Regions from separate parts of the Homo sapiens genome. Here region 1 is linked to region 2. Evidence: promoter capture Hi-C in 16 types of primary human blood cells and fetal thymus (Javierre and others, 2016). All regions are on one chromosome and are shown on one strand. Each heading gives the region's core, a stretch centred on a gene start or on the middle of the fragment in contact. The rest is flanking DNA. Distances are from core to core; before and after follow the strand shown. Region 1 holds the start of NEDD4L (NEDD4 like E3 ubiquitin protein ligase). Region 2 holds the start of ALPK2 (alpha kinase 2).

What was found. Contacts are between HindIII fragments. The CHiCAGO score rates a contact against its expected background, and 5 or more counts as called.
Region 1: the fragment with the promoter of NEDD4L here is called in contact with the fragment with the promoter of ALPK2 in region 2 in 5 of 17 cell types (total B cells, naive CD8 T cells, activated CD4 T cells and 2 more); the score reaches 7.3 in total B cells.

Annotation. Positions count from the first base shown.
Region 1 is chr18:58,042,745-58,045,749 of GRCh38, forward strand. It overlaps NEDD4L (NEDD4 like E3 ubiquitin protein ligase), which reads left to right and starts at 1,482. Exons shown (of 31, transcript NM_001144967.3): 1 at 1,482-1,964. The coding sequence starts at 1,917. RefSeq lists silencers at 1,177-1,546, 1,567-2,116. The HindIII fragment of the contact is 1,832 bases long and covers 778-2,609 here.
Region 2 is chr18:58,627,594-58,630,384 of GRCh38, forward strand. It overlaps ALPK2 (alpha kinase 2), which reads right to left and starts at 1,498. Exons shown (of 13, transcript NM_052947.4): 1 at 1,171-1,498. RefSeq lists an enhancer at 1,515-2,057. The HindIII fragment of the contact is 8,777 bases long and covers 1-2,791 here.

The DNA of each region.
Region 1 (3,005 bases), core at 232-2,731, 580 kb before region 2:
AACTACCGATCTTATGATCCGCCCGCCTCAGCCTCCCAAAGTGCTGGGATTACAGGTTTGAGCCACCGTGCCCGGTCTAAAGACTCGAGGTTTGAAAGGGTTGAAAAACCTCAGTATTGAAAGAATGGACAGAAATCTGACTTTTAAATAGTCCTCCATAAATAGTTCTCATTGGGGGTTTTGTGGCCTGTAAGTACTGTGGACTTGACGGCTCAAGACTTCTAGAGAAGGCTTCTGAGTAGGATGTTGACTCCATGGGGCTAAGTCGTCAAAGGAAACCCATTCTACGGCACAGGTTTTAAGCCAGTCATGCTGCAGGAAGGCAAAGGAGAGCTTAAGGTAGCATGGGTGGGCTCTTTTGAAAACGAACTAGCAGGGCGAACAGCAGATATTTAGTTATGTAGCTGGCAACGAGGAATATGATTCCTTCGGGTCACGCGAGTTCTCTCTGAACTTCCTTGAATGAAAATCCTAAATGCATCCTGGTAATACCCAAGTAGGCACTTTGACGTTTCCTTTTCAAAGGCAAATGGAATGTTCTGCGTCTGTTTTCTTTTTGAACTCCCAACTGCACTTAACATCTAAATTTAAGGAAAGGCTTCCGAAAAAGTCGACTGACGAATTTCTTTCACTTATTTAAAGTAGTCTCTTGCAGTCCTATAAATCGGAAGGATTAAATGAACTGCTTGCTAGAGAAACGGTAGCTGGGTGGTGGGAAGAATCCTACGGTGGCTAATAAGACGTCTCGATCATTTGCATATGCAAAGGATAACCTTAAGCTTGAGTTTGATATTTCACGTTGCGGCTCACAAATGAACTGCTTTTTATTCAAAGAACCATGCTGTCTGTTTTCGCGTGGGTGGGTGTGTAACCGGGGCGGGCGCTATGTTGGTTTTGTTCCCTGCAAGGTTGACACAGGCAATGGCGACTTGCGGCCACACTGGGGCAGCCTCTCCTCGGCTGGCAGCCGGGCCGGGCGGCTCGCTCCCGGGAGCTGACAATGTAGCCAAGTCCTGCTCGTCGGGGCCGCAAAGAATTTAAAGGGGTCTAGAAACATCCATCTTTTCCCCTTTTCACAGTTAACAGCGAGCTCAGGGCTCTCGGTAAAAAGACCACCGGGAGGAAGAAACGCTCAGGGCGTTTTTGTTATTGTTCGCAAAATCCTCTATCGCCCCCAAACGTCCAGCCCGCCCCCTCCCTAAAGCGGAGGGAAACCGGGAGAGGAGGGAGGGTCGGCGGCGCCGGCCAAGCGCGCCAGTACACGCCCCTGCGGATCCGCCCCGCGGCCGGGTGACCCCCGCCGCGCCGCGCTGGAGGCCCCGGGCCGGGGTGGGCGTGGGGCTGAACTCCGCCACCCCCGCAGCCCGCGGCCCGCTCGCCAGCCCGGCCTGTGATTGGCTTGGGGGGCGCGTGTGCCCGCCCCGGCGAACGGGGAGGGTACCCTCGCGGCGCCGGTGGGAGGAGGCGGAGGAGGGGGCGGAGAGAGCGGGGGCCCGGACGGCGCTAGCGAGGAGGCGGGCGAGCCGGGTCCCCGGGAGCGCAGAGGAGGCTCGGAGGGGGGCGGAGAGCGGCGGGGCGGGAGGGAGGCGCGGGTCGCGGGGAGGGAAAGCCCGGCCGGGTCTGCGCCGCCGCCGCGCGCAGTGAGAGGCGCCGGGGCTGCCGCCCGGTGCTCGGCGCGCTCTCGGGAGCCGCCCGCCCGCTGGTCCCGCAGCCTTCCGGGAGGAAGCGGTGCCGGCAGCGTCCAGGGCGCGCTCTCGGGCACCCTCACCTGCCGGCGCCCGGCCGCTTACCCGGCAGGGCGTGCGCAGGGTAGGGTGCGGGACCGGGGGGACCTGGAGGCAGAGGGGAGAACCGGCCGTCCGCGCCGCAGCACAGCCGCTGGGAGCGCCTCAGACCCCGCGCGGGGCGCCGGCTCCATGGCGACCGGGCTCGGGGAGCCGGTCTATGGACTTTCCGAAGACGAGGTGAGTGGCACCCCCTTCCTGCTCGGGACTCCCCGGGGAGTTCCTATCCCGCGCCGGCAGGGGGAGGGGAAAGGGGCCGTCCCCGGGGTGCTCGTGCCCAGCGTCTGCAGGGGAGCCCCAAAGCGGGAGCGCCCCGGAGCGGGATCCAGGGGAGCTTGGGTCCTTCCGCACCCCCCACCCTCCGCAAGCCGAGCTCATTGTTTGTAAATAAAGCGGCGCGACGCCCTTGGAGCTGGGGGTTCACTCCGCAGCTCCTCGCTTTCGGGAGGAGAGGGAGGGGGCATGCGTGCCTCTCTTCCCTCTTCCTCTCCAAGCAGCGTCTCCCGGGGCTGTTGGGCAACTTTCCGCCTCTCGCCCCTGCAGCCCGGGAGTCCATGATGCATGTCACGTCTGGGTCGCGCGGCTGGAGACCCGGGACTGCGGAGAAGCCGGATCGTTTCCCCCTGGAACTTTCTCTCTCATGATTGTGTGGATCAGCAGGCGCTCAGAAGCCTGTGCGTGCTTATCCCGGCGGGAATGGGGGACACGCTGCGTGTGTCCCTCCCCTCGTTTTGCAAAGTCTACGGCCAGGATTGTGGATTTCGGAGCCTCGGTGGGGGAGGTGTTCAAGGCTGGTGGCAGGTGCTCCTGGAAACTTGGGGAGGAAGCTTGCAGCCCTGCCATTTTTTCCTCCCGAGGATTCAAAGCCCGGCACCTCCAGGGTGGGTGGGGAGAGGAAAGCTTAATTGATCTCTTTTATTAATAAAGCGACTGAATAAGCCACGCCTCCCAGGCGGTCGGTTTCACTGGAAAGGGCTTTGTTTTTACCTTCATTCTCTCTTCCGTGTCTCCCACTCCCCCCTTTTGAAACAATCCTGCTAAATCACTGCCTAGTCCTCTCTCGACCAGCCACGCTCGGCTCTTATTGGTATGTTGCTCTGCCAAAAAGGGGGGTGGGACGCTTGTCGCGGGCGCGGCGTGACAGGCAGGCTGGATGGAGCAGGTAGGAGTGGTTTGCCATCTGGCGGGGTGCGCGCTCAGGTCTGGCTCCCCTTTCGAGAG
Region 2 (2,791 bases), core at 248-2,747:
CAGCCTGGGCAACAAGAGCAAAACTCTATCTAAAAACAAAAAACAAACAAACAAAACAAAACAAAAAAAGGACAATGTATATTTGGGAGCTAAAGTTCATTTAGTTTGTTTTAAGTCCTGATTTCCAAGATCTGAACATGGTTATTGGCCATCCATGCTTTTTAATACAGGATTTGTGAAGTTGTTGATTCGGAAGGTAACCCACAACATCCTTGGTTTCAATTCAGAAGCCACACAGCAAAAAACCCCTTCAATTTGTCCTTAGTTGATATAGAGTTATAAAACATATCACATATCTCTGGAATGACCATTCCTGGTTAATTAATCTTTAGAAATAAAGGCTACCTTTACTTAAGGAAAAGGTTGTGGAAAGAAAATAATTAGAGCAGAAGCAGCTCTAAATGCCGTTCTTGCTTTTATCTATTTTTAAATGATTGCCAAATGTCTGTAACTGACACCCTTAATCAAGGCTTTTAAAGTTTAGATGTGTTCATTAAATTGTAATGTGACAGTGGTGGCATTTAATTGATGGATTTTTTTTTGGCTGACTTTTTGCCTTAAATTTTTTTTTAAATCTATTTAACAACTCGATAAATGTTTACATCAGCCATTTTGAAAAGCCTGATAGCTTTTCAGCAAATTGCATTACCTGTTGTCAGACAATATACTCCTGTGTCTACCCAGATAGGAGAGATTTTCAATCATTCAGTTAATTCACAGTAAAAGGAATAACTCTTGACTAAAATACTCAAATATTTCAGACAAAAGTCTCTGGGGCCTGAGTTACCTGGATAGTTGACTTTTTATGTTGCTTTGCAAAACTTTACATATCACTCGTTTGAGTCATTCTGTATATTTTTTCTAACTGTTAAGATAGACATGATGTGAAAGAAACTGTTTTCATTCATTATTGTCAAGCCAAAATAAGCAAATTTAAAAATAGCAATAATTTTCAAAAAGGGTCAAAATGGACTTAAATTACAAGACCATGAGAGTTTGCCCACTTTAAAACCTTATATGCCCAAATATCCCATATAATCCCTATTGGTTTCATCTCATTCTATTTCATCAGGAAACCATCTGCTTTGTTCTTTGTTGCAGAAAATGTAAACAACTATATATTGAAAGCACAGCCATTCCTTATGTAAAAACCAAAGTCTACATACTTACTTTTCAGTACTCTTTGTCCAAGAAATGTTGTAGGAGGGCTGGCTCAGCTGTGGATTCCCCAGGCTGTGTGTGAGGCATTGATTGGGTGTCCCTGTTCCCGGGACAGGGATTCAAAGGAGTTTATAGGGCTCAGGGTCTTCCATGATCAGGTCAAAGCATAGATGGGTCTGCTTCCAGAAAGTTCATCTCTTCCTAAGAGGGGAAATTCCATGCCCGGGGAAGTTCTGGAAGAAGAGCATTTTTTCCCCGCCCTTCAGTGAACTAGGTCATTGCTGAAGCTGGAGAATATATTTTAGCATCCCTGTGATGAAACTTGAGGGCTGTTTCTGCAGTAGGTGCGACACTTGTTGACACGACACGCTGGGGAGGCCCTGGCAAGGGGGCCTGGTGAAATGCAGCCCCAGGGAGCTGATGAAACCCAGACGAGCTGTCACTGGCTGCTGCTCAGGAGACCGAGCAGCTCTTTACAAAGCCCATGCTGGACCCTGGGCTTAGTTGCTCGCTCCTTAGGAAAGGAAAAACTTGCTGCCTGATAAAGGGATTAAGGCCGGAGTAACACAACCAGTTCTCATACCAAGGTTATCAGGCATTTGAAGTACACATAGGAAACCCGTGGAGGGGGTGTTGGGGAGGTGAAAATATGTGTCATATGTTGTTCATTTAGAACAGGCATTATAGCCATCCTCTGAAGTTCTCTGAGAAAGGCAGAAGCCACAGAAGGAAGGCAGGATCCACCCTCCTCACCCTGCTTACCCCCCCTTACCCCTTGTCTGTCTGTCTGTCTCTCTCTCTCTCTCTCTCACACACACACACACACACACACACACACACACCCCTTCCTATTTTGACTACGATAGAAGAGAACAGACAAAGATCAGAAGAAATCCACAGAAGAAATACCACAGGTCCTATTCCTTCAGATTGCCTGGAATGGTTCTTGTTGGGAAAGTAGATTTTGTAATATGGGCAATTCTTTTATTGAAGTTTATCCAAGTCCAAAAACATAGAGAATCCTTTAGCATCATTCTGTAACTACTTAGCCTCTCCCCAAAAATATTTTAATGTATGACACCTGGAAATTGACAGCTTAGACAGAAACCTCTTTTGAGACTCGTGGAGACAGCTCAAATTAGCAGCTCCAGGGGTGACTTTGAAAGGGACATAGCTGTAAATATTCACTCTGTGTAGGGCACTGCAATCCTCAAAAGCAAATTGTTTTTACACAGCACAGAATGTACATCATTATCCCTTGATGGAATGCAACTTTTCACAAGATGAAAACTCATCTAAAACGATAAAATATTAAGAAATGTAGGGGTGATATGTTCTGTTTTTCAGTTTTATCTTCATGTGAGAAAAAAGATATTAAAGCTGAGGCACTGTAAAATAATGACTATCTCCTGGGGAACACATCTGTGAAATGCCACAGAACACAGAAATTACCAACTCTTTGCAAATGGTCGGCTTTATGGAAAGCTGAGGTCTTCACAATGTAAGGTCTTTTCCAGATAAGAAAGAGGAGATAACTTCAAGTTGGGAATGAAGAGAGGAGGAAAGTGTGATGATAAAGAATAAACAAATGCTGTCGCACACCACAGAGAGAATAAAGTCAAAAGTGAAG